Linked DNA regions of Homo sapiens: region 2 is linked to region 1. Evidence: promoter capture Hi-C in 16 types of primary human blood cells and fetal thymus (Javierre and others, 2016). All regions are on one chromosome and are shown on one strand. Each heading gives the region's core, a stretch centred on a gene start or on the middle of the fragment in contact. The rest is flanking DNA. Distances are from core to core; before and after follow the strand shown.

The links. Contacts are between HindIII fragments. The CHiCAGO score rates a contact against its expected background, and 5 or more counts as called.
Region 2: a contact is called between a fragment that was not itself captured here and the fragment with the promoter of RAB20 in region 1, in 1 of 17 cell types (monocytes). The highest score is 6.7, in monocytes.

Annotation. Positions count from the first base shown.
Region 1 is chr13:110,556,140-110,562,971 of GRCh38, forward strand. It overlaps RAB20 (RAB20, member RAS oncogene family), which reads right to left and starts at 5,583. Exons shown (of 2, transcript NM_017817.3): 1 at 5,209-5,583. The coding sequence starts at 5,380. RefSeq lists enhancers at 1,255-1,778, 1,779-2,301 and silencers at 5,143-5,202, 5,182-5,371, 5,263-5,712. The HindIII fragment of the contact is 2,254 bases long and covers 3,887-6,140 here.
Region 2 is chr13:111,155,847-111,162,678 of GRCh38, forward strand. All of the region lies in intron 2 of ARHGEF7 (Rho guanine nucleotide exchange factor 7), which reads left to right. Among named protein-coding and RNA genes, the nearest start is that of ARHGEF7-AS1, 11 kb to the left of the region's middle. The HindIII fragment of the contact is 740 bases long and covers 2,104-2,843 here.

The DNA.
Region 1 (6,832 bases), core at 4,333-6,832:
TGGTCGGCAGATGCCCTGATCTCCAGAACCTGTGCCCTCATCACATGGGTGAGGGACGCTGAGCCTGCCAGTCAACCACCCTGAAAACAAGGGCCAGGATGGATCCCACAAAATCACAGGGGTCCTTTAAACCCTTAGAAGAGGGAAGCAGAGGGGCTGGTTCAGAGGGATGCTGTGTAGGACAGACCTGACCTGACTGCCTTTTCGGAGAGAGGATAAAACCAGGAAATCAGGCAGGCTCCAGAAGCTAGGAAAGTCTAAGAAACAGGTTCCTCCCTTCAGCCTCCAGAAAGGAATGCAATCCTGCAAGCTTTGACTTTAGCCCAGTGAGAGACTCATTTGGGACTTCTGACCTCCAGACTACTTAAAGACAATATATCTATGGTTTTAATTTTTATTTATTTATTCATTTGAGACAGGGTCTTACTCTGTTGCCCAGGCTGGAGTGCAGTGGTATGATCATGGCTCACTGCAGCCTCAACCTCCCAGGCTCAAGAAATCCTCTTACCTCAGCCTCCCAAGTAGCTGGGACTACAGGTGCGCACCACTACACCTGGCTAACTTCTTTATTCTTTGTAGAAACCGTCTCCCTGTGTTGCCCAGGCTGGTCTTGAACTCCTAGGTTCAGGTGATCCTTTCACTTCAGCCTCCTAAAATGCTGGGATTACAGGCAGGAGCTACCATGCCCAGCAAATTTGTGTTGTTTTAAGTAACTAATTTGTTATAGCAGCAATAGGAAACTGACACAGACTTTGGAACTGGGAGCAGAGAGAGGCTGTCACGAATATGGAAGTGGCTTTAGAACTGGGCAATGGCAGATCTGGGAGGATCTGAGGATCATGAGAGGGCAGCCCGGATTGGCCTAAACAGATGGTTGGCAGGAAGGTGCACATGAACAGCCCTGCTGGTGAGGAATCAGAAGGAAGCGAGAAGCATAGCAGAGAAAACCTGCATCCTCGTAGTGAACACCTCCACCAGAAGGAGCCAATTACAGGTGGAAGCCTGGGGTCTGAATGAGGACTGTGTTATCAGAAGCTGGAGGAGGGAGGATGTGGTGCCAGAGAGCTCAGCTGAGTCGTGCCCCACAGCTGTGAGGGAAGCATCACTGTGTGATGAAGTTGGATATGTAGCTGAGGAGATTTCCAAGCAAAGTGTTGAAGGTGTGGATTTTTCTTGCTGTTTATATTAAGATGAGGAAGAACAGATAGGATGAGGGAAGAATTGTCGAACAAAGAGGAGCAGGACTTGGTGATGTGGGAAGTCCTCAGTCAGGCAGATTGCTGGGAGGCTCACACTAGGAGGCCCACCATCCGGAACGCCTGTGCTGGAGAGGAGGCCCTGGTGTGGCCACATAACCTTCTGCTGGTGCCTCAGAAGGACCCAAAGGCCAGAGGACTCTCAAGAGACCAAGATGTCTCATCTTTGCGGTGGCCACTATTCTGTCTGTCACAGCCTGGCTTCAGGCTCCCACAGACGTGCATCCATTCCACATGCAAAATGCACTCACTCTCTCCAACACCCAGTCCCCAGAGACGCAGCTGGAGCTGGATGCCGGCACAGGGAAGTGGCGCAAGTCTGGGCTCCCCGCCGCCTTCCAAGCTGGCTCTTCAAGGGCCAGGTGCTGGGGATGCAAACGTGAGTCAGGTAATGCCCCTGCTCCCCCCGCCTCCCGGCCGCCAGGCCACGGCCTTTAGAAGGGAAGGAAAACAAATGTGGAGAGCATTCTGTCTCCAGGGCTCTGGGGACCAGGTCTGTGCTGGGCACACCAGCCGCTTTCTCATCAGCCTGTCGTATTTTCTTCAGAGCAACGATCAGATGTGAAGCTGTACCATTCACTTCTTGCCTGCCTTTCCCCCTCCTCTGGAATCCAGGGCCTGCGGGGCAGCGGCCAGCCGGCCTGCTCACTGCTGTAGAACGAGGGCCCAAACAGTGCCCGGCACCGGGGAGCCTCAGTTTATATTTGCCAACAACAGGCAACACCACTTTAGGCTGTCCTGAGCAACCGGGCAACACAGAGGAGCACAGCAGTACGTCTTCTAGGGCTCTGCCTCCTCGCTGGGCAACCTCCTTTTGCTTCCTGGATGTACCCACCCATGCACAGCAACCACTCCACATCTGTGTGCCCAATTAGACAAGGGCTGGGAGTGGCAAGTGCCCCCTAAAAGGGCATAATGAGACAAGGTGAGTTGGAGTTGGATGAACCAAGGTCTAAATCCCACTTAACTTCTGCTGTCTTCCCACTTTTTTTTTTTTTTTTTTTTGAGACAGAGTCTTACTCTTGTCACCCAGGCTGGAGTGCAATGGCGCAATCTTGGCTCACTGCAACCTCCGCCTCCAGGGTTCAAGCGATTCTCCTGCCACAGCCTCCCAAGTAGCTAGGATTACAGGCGCCAGCCACCACACCCAGCTAATTTTTGTATTTTTAGTAGACACGGGTTCACCACATTAACCAGGCTGGTCTTGAACTCCTGACCTTAGGTGATCTGCCCGCCTCACCCTCCTAAAGTGCTGGGATTACAGGCATGAGCCACCGCGCAGCCCTGTCTTCCCATCTGTTTTTTTTTTTTTTTTTTTTTTTGAGACAGAGTCTCGCTCTGTCACCGGGTTGGAGTGCAGTGGCACAATCTTGGCTCACTGCAACCTCTGCCTCCTGGTTCAAGCGATTCTCCTGCCTCAGCCTCCCGAGTAGCTGGGACTACAGGTGTGCGCCACCACGCCCTGCTAACTTTTGTATGTTTAGTAGAGATGGGGTTTCACCATGTTAGCCAGGATGGTCTTGATCTCTTGACCTCGTGATCCACCCACCTCAGCCTCCCAAAGTGCTGGGATTACAGGCATGAGCCACCACGCCTGGCCCCATCTTTAACATGCAAATAATCACACCTCCCTCTGGAGGACTGTTGTGTCAATGGAATAGGGTAATGTACTTCTGCCCTGCCAACTCTCTTCCCCCTCTTCAGCTCCATCCACTGCCTGCCTTGCAGGCTACAAGCAGCCAGGCATTGGGTGTACACTGACCCCCATGCAATCGTTTTTACTATTAAACATCCTGTCGCCCTCTGCACACCTGCACCCCCACCCCAGCCCACCCTGCCTTGTGTGGCTAAAAGCAACTTTCAAAATGGTTCCTCCTCCGGCTGGTCCTTACCATTCTGCCTCGGTTATGACAATTACAACAAAAACAACTTGAAAAGCAATGTCTGTGGGGTGGAGAGAAAGTTTAGGAGCTCAGCAAAAGAAGGAAAAGAACAGGGTCCCCTAAATGTTAAATTCTGAATTTCCAACAATTATAGAAAAGGTATCTGTTCCTACCTCTCTTTTCCCTTCAAGTACCCGGTCAGGCCACAGGCCACCGAGGAGGCAGGCAAGGGTGCCCTGTGTCCCTGCCAACTCTGGGCAAGGGCCGCCTGAGTGTGTACACAGGAAGTCAGGAATGTGGAGAAGGGGCCTGGCCACTCTCTGTTCTGAGGAGCTCTAGTAATTCACCCTTAGGATCTTTCGAACAAGCAGCAGCAGCCTCGGATGCCAGGAAATGAGCTGCTGCCCCCCAGTAACGCTTCAAGACATCTGGGGCGTCACATCAGCACAACTGCAAAATCTCTGGTGATCAGGATTCCGGCTGCATCACGTCCTTGGTGCTGAAGAAGCAAGAGGCCAGTGGAAACGAAACTGCTGCTTCATTCCCTCCGATGCAGGGGCCGTTCCAGCACTGCAGGGCAGCTCTTGTTCCAGAAACACACCGTGTGTTAAGAGTCTGCCTCCAACGGTGGCCACTACAGGGGTTTCGGTTAGGGTCCCCCAATAACACTCCTGCATTAACCTTGCTACTTGTAAACCAAGGGCAGCAGTAAATCCCAGCCAACCAGCAAAAGCAGCAGAGGGGCAAAGCTTTGTACAAAACCAAATTGGGTTCAATTTGACTTTGTACAGAAGCAAATTGGGTTCGTGAATTGGGTTCGATTTGACTTCTAGAGCGTGTGTTCCATCGTTACCAAATGCTCAGTGTGAGGGAGTCAGCTCAGTAAACCTCATCCTGCAGCCTGAGGCAGAAGACAGAGTTGGAGCAAAGATCAGGGAAATGCACCTCTTTACCTGGGGGACATTGTTTTCACAAGATGATTGCCAATAAATTAGTCACGATGTTAACTGGGATAATAATAAAAAAGCATCAAAGAAGGCAAAAGGGAGGGGGAGAACTGGAAGTACCTCTGTGAGCTTCGTTAATTCAGTTTTAAAGAGAGAATTCATTATCATCTTGTTTATTCAGCATACTGATACACCCAAGATGGCAATTTAAGAATTCTGGACGGGGCCTTTGGGTATATGACTTTTTAAGATGCTAACATAAAAGAAGTCAGAACTTTCAGAGTTTCAGGCTTCTAAAAACTCACACTCATTGAAAATGTGTCACACTATTTCCAGTTTCTTCATTCACTTACAATATCTTATTCTTTTGTAAGGAGAAGGAAATATATTCCATTGCAATGCTACAATCACCAGTGTTATTTTCCAAAGTTAAACAGAAAGCCTGAATTGAGATCCTCTAAGTTGTACTTTTGAAAAGTCACAAATACTACACAATAAAAATAACTCATTACCTATCTTAAAAATGCTTCCACCGGAAGTCACTCCAACCCAAACCCATATGACGTATCTGAGCCAAGATCAAGCAGAAGATTAACTGTAAAAGGCAGATATGCTCCGGGCTAAGAGGTCCGGAGGCTCCAGTTTTATTTCCTCTCTCCTGACTAAACCCAACAGGGGGGAACACTCTGTGCCTCATTTTACTTTTTCTTAGAAAGGGGCTAATAACACCAGCTCTGCTCACCCCTCAAGTGAATCTCAAAGGATATCATGTTCCTACGGGTACGTGAAAACTGAAAATACCTAACAAAGCAGCCACAGAGGAGCGTCTCTGGTTCCCAGGGCGGCAGAGCAGGAACGCGGGGCTCGGGAGCAAAGGCAGCTTAGGTACACAAATGACCAGCGGGTTCTCTGCAACTTGGGTTGTCCCTGAGGTCACTGAGTGGCTGAGAGGCAGCGCTCAGCCCAACCAGCAAGGGAGGACGAGTGGGAAACCCCGAGAAGGAGGCATTTGCTGTCCGAGGCCGGGACCCTGTGCGCGGCCGGGTGCCCTGCTGGAAGCCCCGCGCCCCCCGTCCCCGGCGGAGCCCCAGGGCGGTGTGGCTCATGCGGCGCCGGCCTCACCTGCGGTGTCCCAGATGGAGATGTTGTAGGAGCGCCACTGCTTCAGGTAGAAGGCGCCGCCCACCGTGCTGACCGTGTCCGGGAAGCGCCGCTCCATATACCGCTGCAGCAGCGACGTCTTCCCCACGTTCATGTCCCCCAGGAGCACGATCTTGCTGTCGGGCTTCCTCATCTTCCCGTAAGAACCCCCAGCGCCCCCGCGCCCTCTCCCCGAGGCTGGCCGGCTCGTGCGCCCTGGGCGCAGCTGGAGGAGCGGACCCCGGACTCGCCGGGACCCGGATTCTCGTGAACGCTCCGGGACCTTCGCCTCCGGACGCCCGGGAGCTCAAGAGAGGAAGCGCGTGTGCGCGCCCGGGAAGGAGCTGGGTGCAGAGCACGGAGCCCACGTCGGGGGCCCGGACCGCGGCGGCCTCGCCTCGCCCCGCCCCCGCCCCCGCCCCCGGGCCCTTTCACCGCCGCGGCCCCGCCCTATCCTCCTCCGCCCACCGCCCCCGTCCCGCCCCTGCTGGACCTCGCCGTTTCGCAAGCATCCGAGTTCTCCAGCCGAGGCTCGGGACTGCTGCAGGGTGGAAAATGAAAGTTCTGAGAGCACCTTCCGCCCCTCCGCTTCTGCACAGCCGGGGCTGCGGTGCGAGGAGCTTGGCCGCGGGGCCCGAACGAGGCGAAGGGGCCGGGGCCCTTGGGGAACCCCCTTCTCTCTTCCACTCTCCCTTAGGTAAAACCCGTGTTCCTCTCACGCTCGACCCAGCGCCTTTCCAGCTGCGGTCGATTTGCTTCTCCGCGTGTAAGTACAGCCACCCTCAAGGTCATTGAAAAAGTTTGCTTTAAATGAGCGTCTGCGGAACTCGTCCTGAGGCTCTCACTGTTACAGATTAGAGATGGGGGCGCTTTCTAGTGGAGGATTTTGCTTTTGCTCTTCTACTTTTGCAAGAAGCTTTTTGTCCTGAAAAGTGGACAGTCATCTCCATTTATAGCTTGGAATGAAAATTTGACTATGGAAGTTGCAGTCGCTACTTGAGAAATATTTCCTCCTTCTTTTTTTTTTTTTTTTTTTATTTTTGACACGGAGTTTTGCTGTTGTTGCCCAAGCTGGAGAGCAGTGCGCGATCTCGGCTCACTGCAACCTCCGCCTTCCGGTTTCAAGCGATTCTCCTGCCTCAGCCTCCCGAGTAGGCGGGATTACAGGTATGTGCCACCATGCCCGGCTAATTTTTGTATTTTTAGTAGACACGGGGTTTCACCATGTTGGCCAGGCTGGTCTCGAACTCCTGACCTCGTGATCCACCCGCTTCGGCCTCCCAGGTCCTCCTTCCGTTTTAAAGGATAAACCTTGAAATGCTTTTAAAATATGCAGCGTGTAGAATTTGGTTAGTTGGTTGGTTGGGGTTTTTTAGAGAAAATGAGAGGTAGAATGGACTCTAAGTTAAACCCTGGGGGACAGTGTCACTCTGGCCGCTGGCCTGGCTGGGAAAGGCGATGAGACCCTGAGCAGGTTAAAACCCGTGTCCTGAAGGTGTCCTGTAAAGGGAAATAGGCCCGTTGCCTCCTTCGTAGGTGCCCTGAGACTCCGACAAGGCAGGAATGCCAAGGTATTTCGTACCTGCTCAGCCCTGGCATGTCAGGT
Region 2 (6,832 bases), core at 1,224-3,723, 600 kb after region 1:
GGGTGGATCACATGAGGTCGGGAGTTCGAGACCAGCCTGGCCAACATGGTGAAACCCTGTCTATACTTAAACAAACCCAAAAACAAAAATTAGCCCGGCGTGGTGGCGTGCACCTGTAGTTCCAGTTACTCAGGTGGCTGAGACAGGAGAATCCCTTGAACCCCGGAGGCAGAGGTTGCAGTGAGCTGAGATTGCCACTGCACTCCAGCCTGGGTGACAGAGCAAGACTCCCTCAAAAAAAAAAAAAAAAAAAAAAGTAAATTGAATGTTAAAAACTTACCGTTTTTAGTTTTCCAAAGGTTGCTGACATTTCATACAGTAACTATTGTTTTTATAATTAAGAGTTTATTTGAAGGTTTTCTGGAAGAGAGTTTTCACTAACATATTCCAAGCATCTACAATAGTGCTTGGCACATAATAGGCTTTCAATAAATATTTGTTACTAATAGAATGAACTTGAGGTTGTAAGTGATAGCAAGTGAGTTTCATTTTAAAGTAAAAAATTAGTTTTGACTTATTTTGTGCTATTTTTAAAGAGTAAATATCTCTTCCAGTAAATTTAAGCAAGAGGCAAATGTTAGCATTCTTCAAGCTTAGTGTGAGTCACACTTGTAATTACCTAGGAGATAATAAAAATGAAAATATGAAAACAGCACATGAAAAACCTGATAAATTGTTCAGTCATTGTGTTTTTTGGGAAGTTACCCTGAGAAGTCATTTTGTATGCTATGCATCCAGCTCTGGCTTCCAGCCTTGTAAGGTGATGTGAAGGGACAGGGCTGGGCCCTGAAGGACTTGGTCATCTCCCATGCGGGCCACAGTGCAGCAATTTCCCAGTGTTTAAGAATTGCTTAGGGAGTCAGGAGGGAAGGGCCTTGCACTTGTGAAATATGTTGTGGGATTTACACATTTCATTTTCACAAAATTCTGAAAGGTGGGAAATTGATAAGAAATGTTTTGAAACTACAGACACAAAACTTAAAACTAATAGCTTAAATTCTAGATTAGCTTTTGTTCTATAGTTGTAAATGTCAAGGTGCTTTTCTTCCAGGGGTTAGTTTAGACTGAATTGTGTTTGTAACAGATTGTTTTTGGTGTATATATTCTTATTTACTGTCAGTTTAAGCTCTGCTAAGATTTGTTAAAGGGAAAAAGGAAGTAAACTTGGTTAATATGTCAGCTGTTTTGGTGCATGCCCTCCTTAATTACCTGTAGAAAATCAGATATTATCCCCCAATTGTTTTGATTATGAAAATATTTTTATAAATTGGTTTTAAAGGAATATTGTGTGAGTCGCATTTATTGGTAAACTTTGAGAAGCACTGGGTTTTAAGCTGGAAAACTTTGAAATTTGGAAAATTAAAAAAATTTAATTACTGTTGGAAAGCAGTGCAACTTGGATGACTTCATTTTCTTATAACTTTTTTACTTGGCATGCTTAAATTTTTTTTTTTTTTCCAGTTAGGGCAAAAAACCCCTAGGCACACAATTTCTATTTGTATCTCAAAAGCAACCAAAATAATAATTATTAATAAGAATAATGATGATGTTGGCTGGGTGCAGTGGCTCATGCCTGTAATCCTAGCGCTTTGGGAGGCTGAGGCGGGTAGATCACCTTAGGTCAGGAGTTTGAGACCAGCATGACCAACATGGTGAAACCCCATCTCTACTAATCACGCCACTGCCCTCCAGCCTGGACAACAGAGCAAAACTCCGTCTCAAAAAAAGAAAAAAAAAATGATGATGATGATGATGTTTGTAGAATTTCACTTGAGGATAAGTAACTTACTGAGGCAAACCAAGCAAGTGATAGGACATTTCTTTGCATTTTCTTAGGTAAACAGCTACAGAGAAATTCAGAGTGATTTCTGTTTCCAGTATTTTGCTATGTTACTGTGGAATTCTGATTCAAGTGTTGTAGCTACTGTAGGATGTGTATGTGTGCATGTGTGTGTGTGCACATGCTTGTTCACTGAAAAGGTCACAATGAATTAGCTTCCAAGATGTTCCCACCCTATGCAACATTGTCTGATTAGGCATCTGACAACTAGGGAAGCAGGTGAAATGTAACTGGCAAAAGCAGATTTTATGTTCCTAGGAGAAAGCTTGTTTGGTTAAAGCCATCACGCCTGTAACATGTTTACCAGTTTTTTATTTCAAGAGCTGAAAGTTAAGGATATAAGATTCCAGTTAATTGATACATTATTAAGCTCACATTAATAACGTGGTTTCAGGAATATTAGCAACAAAATTATTATAATAAAGCTATGGATTTTAACTTAGTTCTGTTTGAAAGAAAGATGTCTACTGTTCTTGATACTTAGCTATATTCATACATAATAGAAAAGGGTAATCTTGATGGATAGTTTGATATTAATGAGGCTTTTTTGCTTAAGAATTGACTGTGGGCTCACATACAGTGTTACCATCACTACTTGAAAGGAAAACAAAACATTTCAGATGAAACTGGGTGAGCCTGTTCTCATAGTTGCCAAGAGGGAATAAAGCCAATTTGTCAAGTGTAAGGAAACCACAGCTCTTTCTTGTCATAGACCATTTCTGGAATAGTTATGTTTGATATGATAGGGATGGTAACCCTAATATATTAATAATTGATCTTTCCAGCTCCTTGGCACTGCAACTAATACTAAAATTATCTGCAGGTTTCACAGTTGCTGTTCATTTATTTAACTGTTTTTCTGGAAAAGTGGAAAGCATCCAAAGGCCCAGGTGGTTCAGAACAGAAATCTGCTCTTTTCTCATCCTCACCCTTGGAAGTTTTTGGTTGGCTTTTGGTCTCTCAGATCAACAGAGCATGAAATGTAGACCAGCTAGTCACATAAAGCTTGCCTCATATCCAGTTTCTTTTCTTTAATTCTTATATTTTGTTTTTAAATTGACAAATAGTTGCATGTATTTATGGAGTAACATCATTATGTTATGGTATATGAATGCATTGTGGAATGATTAAGTCGGGAATGAACATATCCGTTACCTCACATACTTCTTATTTCTTTGTGGTAAGAACATTTAAAATCTAATCTTTTAGCAATTTTGAAATATACTTTAAATTATTGTTAACTGTAGTCACCTGCTGTACAATAGATCACTAAAATTTATTCCTCCCGTCCGACTGAAATTTTGTACCCTTTGACTAACATCTCCCCTTTCCCTGTCTAGCTCCTGTTTCCTCCTTCCCAGCCTCCTCAGCATCTGGTAACCACCATTCTCTTGTCTGCTTCTGTGAGTTCAGCTTTTTTACACTTTACATATAGGTGAGATCGTGCAGTATTTGTCTTTTTGTGCCCTGCTTTCTCTTAGCACAATGTTCTCCAGGTTCATTCATTGTTGTTGCAAATAACAGGATTTCCTTTTTTTAAAAGTCTGACTAGTATTCTATTGTGTATATATCCCACATTTTCTTTATTCTCTCATCTTTCAGTGGACACTTAGATTGATTTTATATCTTGGCTGTTGTGAATAGTGCTGCCATGAAAATGGGAGTGCAGACATCTCTTCAACATACTGATTTTAGTTTCTTTGGCTATATACCCAGTAGTGGGATTGCTGGATCATATGATAATTCTGTTTTTAGATTTTGGAGGAACCTCCATACTGTTTCCCAGAATGGCTTCAGGAATTTACATTCCCACCAACAATGTGCAAGGCTTATCTTTTCTCCACATCCTTGCCAACACCTGTCGCCTTTCATCTTTTTGATAATAGCCATTCTACAGTTGTGAGATGCTCTCATGATTTGAATGTGCATTTCTCTGATCATTAGTGATGTTGAACATTTTCTAATCTGTTGGCCATTTGTATGTCTTTGGAGAAATGTCTGTTTGGGTCCTTTGCTCATCATTTTTTAATCAGGTTTTTTTTTGTTACTGAGTTTTTAAATATATTTTGGATATTAGCTTCTTATCAGATGTATGGTTTGCAAATACTTTCTTTCCGTTCTGTGAGTTGTCTCTTAATTCTGTTTTGCTGTGCATAATCTTTTCAGTTTGATGAAATCCCATTTATCTTATTTTTGCCTCTGTTTTCGGTGCTTTTGGGGTCATATCCAAGAACTCATTGTCCAGACCAATGTCTTGGAGCTTTCCATGGTGCTTATTTCTGGTAGTTTCATAGTCTCAGGTCTTACATTTAAGTCTTTAGTCCATTTTGAGTTCATTTTTGTATGTGTTGTGAGACAAGGTTCCAATTTAATTTTTCTGCATGTGGATATCCAATTTTCCCAGCACCATATGTTGAAGACTGTCCTTTTCCCATTGGGTGTTCTTGGCACCTTTGTCAAAGGTCTATTGACTGTATCATGTGAGTTTAATTCTCAGCTCTCTATTCTGCTCTGTTGGTCTGTGTGTCTGCTTTTATGCTAGTGCCATGCTGTTTTGGCTGCTATAGCTTGGTAATACACTTTGAAATCAGGTAGTGTGATGCCTCCAGCTTTGTTCTTTTTACTCAAGAATGCTTTAGTTATTGGGGTTTTTTTTTTTTGTGATTCCATGTGAATTTCAGGATTGTTTTTCTATATCTGTGAAGAATACCATTGTAAATTTGGTAGACATTGCATTGAATCTGTGGATCACCTTGGATGTTTTAACAGTACAGGTTAAGCATGCTGACTGATACGGTTTGCCTGTGTCCACACCCAGATCTCATCTTGAATTGTAATCTGCATAATCCCCACGTCTAGGGAGAGACCTAGGGAGAGACCCAGGAGATTATGGGGATTACAATTCAAGATGAGATTTGGAGTTAGAGATCAGCCTGGGCTACGTGGCAAAACCTCATTTCTACAAAGAAAAAAAAAATCTATTGGACAGTGCTGGATCCAGTAGAATCCTAGGAGATGGGATCATGGGGGTGATTTCCCCCATGCTGTTCTTGTGATAACGAGGGAGTTCTCAGGAGATCTGATGGTTTTATAAGGGGCTCCTCCCCCTTTGCTCCTCACCCTTCTGTCTCCTGCTGCCCTGTGAAGAGGTGCTTTTCGCCATGATTGTAAGTTTCCTGTGGCCTCACCAGCCATGTGGAACTGTGAGTCATTTAAACCTCTTTTCTTTATAAATTACCCAGTCTTGGGTATGTCTTTGTAACAGTGTGAACGTGGACTAATGTACATGCCAAACCTGAAAATCCAAAATGCTCCAAAATCTGAAATTCTTTGAGTACCAATGTGACACTCAAAGGAAATGCTCATTGGAGTGTTTTGGATTTTCAGGATTTGAGATGCTCAACTGATAACTATAATGAAAATATCCCTAAATCTGAAATACAAAACACTTCTGATGTCAACTTGTGTCACTTCTGAGAATGTGTACATGATGCTGAGTAGCACAGAGCATGCTTGTGGCATGGGTGCTAAATGGTTAGCTTGGCACACTCACAGCTAGTAATTGTGACTTTGATCTTCAGCTGATTTCTCCTTTTTTGATTCAGGGTTATTGCTCACTCCTGGTAGCTGCCCATGATTATCAGGTATTTGCTTTGCGGGGGACGGTATAGGGGGAGGGAATGTAGTGCCTGACCCCAACCCCTTTCCTGGGTTGCTGTCCTGTGTTGCCACTCGCCAGCTGTGCCATCAGGAAAATGGGTGTCACACGTGCTTGCCCTTTGTGTCTGTCGTGAGGATTACATAAATTCATGCAAAACTCTTAGAACAGTGCCTGGTAAGTTGGAGGTGCCAAAGAGACAATAGCTGTTATTATCATTTGCATTATTATTCTTTCGTGTAGTTGGAGCCATATGGTATATTTTAAATCTTTACCCAGGGTTCCATATTCATTTTTTAAACTGCAGTAAATAGAGCTATGTAAGAAGAAAATGAAAAGCTGTATAATGCTACCGTTTAGAGATACCAGTGTTAAAATTAGTATTTCTTTTTTGGTAATTTTTTTTTTAACCATTGCAAATATGTAAATATATTTTTAAAATATCCATGACATCATAGATACATGTAATGTTTTATAACATGCTTTAATTTGATCCAGTGTGAGTCTTTTCCCATGTTAAATAATTATTTTACTACTGATTTTAATGGCTGCCTCTTAGTTCCTGGTAATAATCCCCATTTTTGGATACAGAGGTGGATTCTAAGTTTCCACGGTTGTGAACAGTGGACTGTGCAATGGACATTTCTGTACCACACCCTTAATCCTTGATTTTCTTTGTAGGACAAATTCCCTGATAGGGCACTGCAAGGCCAAAGGTGGGGGCTTTCAAAGGCTTTGAACACCTGCTACCATACAGCTTCCAGAGAACTTTTGCCAGTAGCAGTACATGAGAGTACTCCTTCCTGTCCTATGGATGTCCTGTGGACAGCTGTCTTGAATCTTTTATATATTTTCTTTCCCTTAGGAAGATGGAAAACTTGTTATGGATAAACATTTTGGCTTTTCTATCTTATATCTTCCACAGTGCTTTATATTTCTGGGGAGATTGCAAACTAAAATAAATGTAAGTCAGTCAACATTTCCTGCATTGGACTTTTGAAAGAGGATGTGAAAGAAAAGCTGCTAGAATTGGAAATAAAAGTTGAAAACCCTAGAAATTTGCAGTGTTATCAGCTGTTGCACAAGTAACCTTGCATGGCACTGGGTGGGACATTCTTGGGCCACTCTGTACAAGCTGGAGTTCTGGCTGTAAATGCATCTTGAGACGGTCTGCAAAGGTGAGAGGGCAGGTTTTCATTTTCTCACTTTACAGTCGAGAGACTTCAGAAGGAGTTCAGGTGGGCAGTCCAGCATCGTAAGGAGCTGGGATAATTTAGTGAGTGAGAGGTTTTGGAAAAGAAATTGCCTTACCTGTTTCTGAAACACTCATCTTC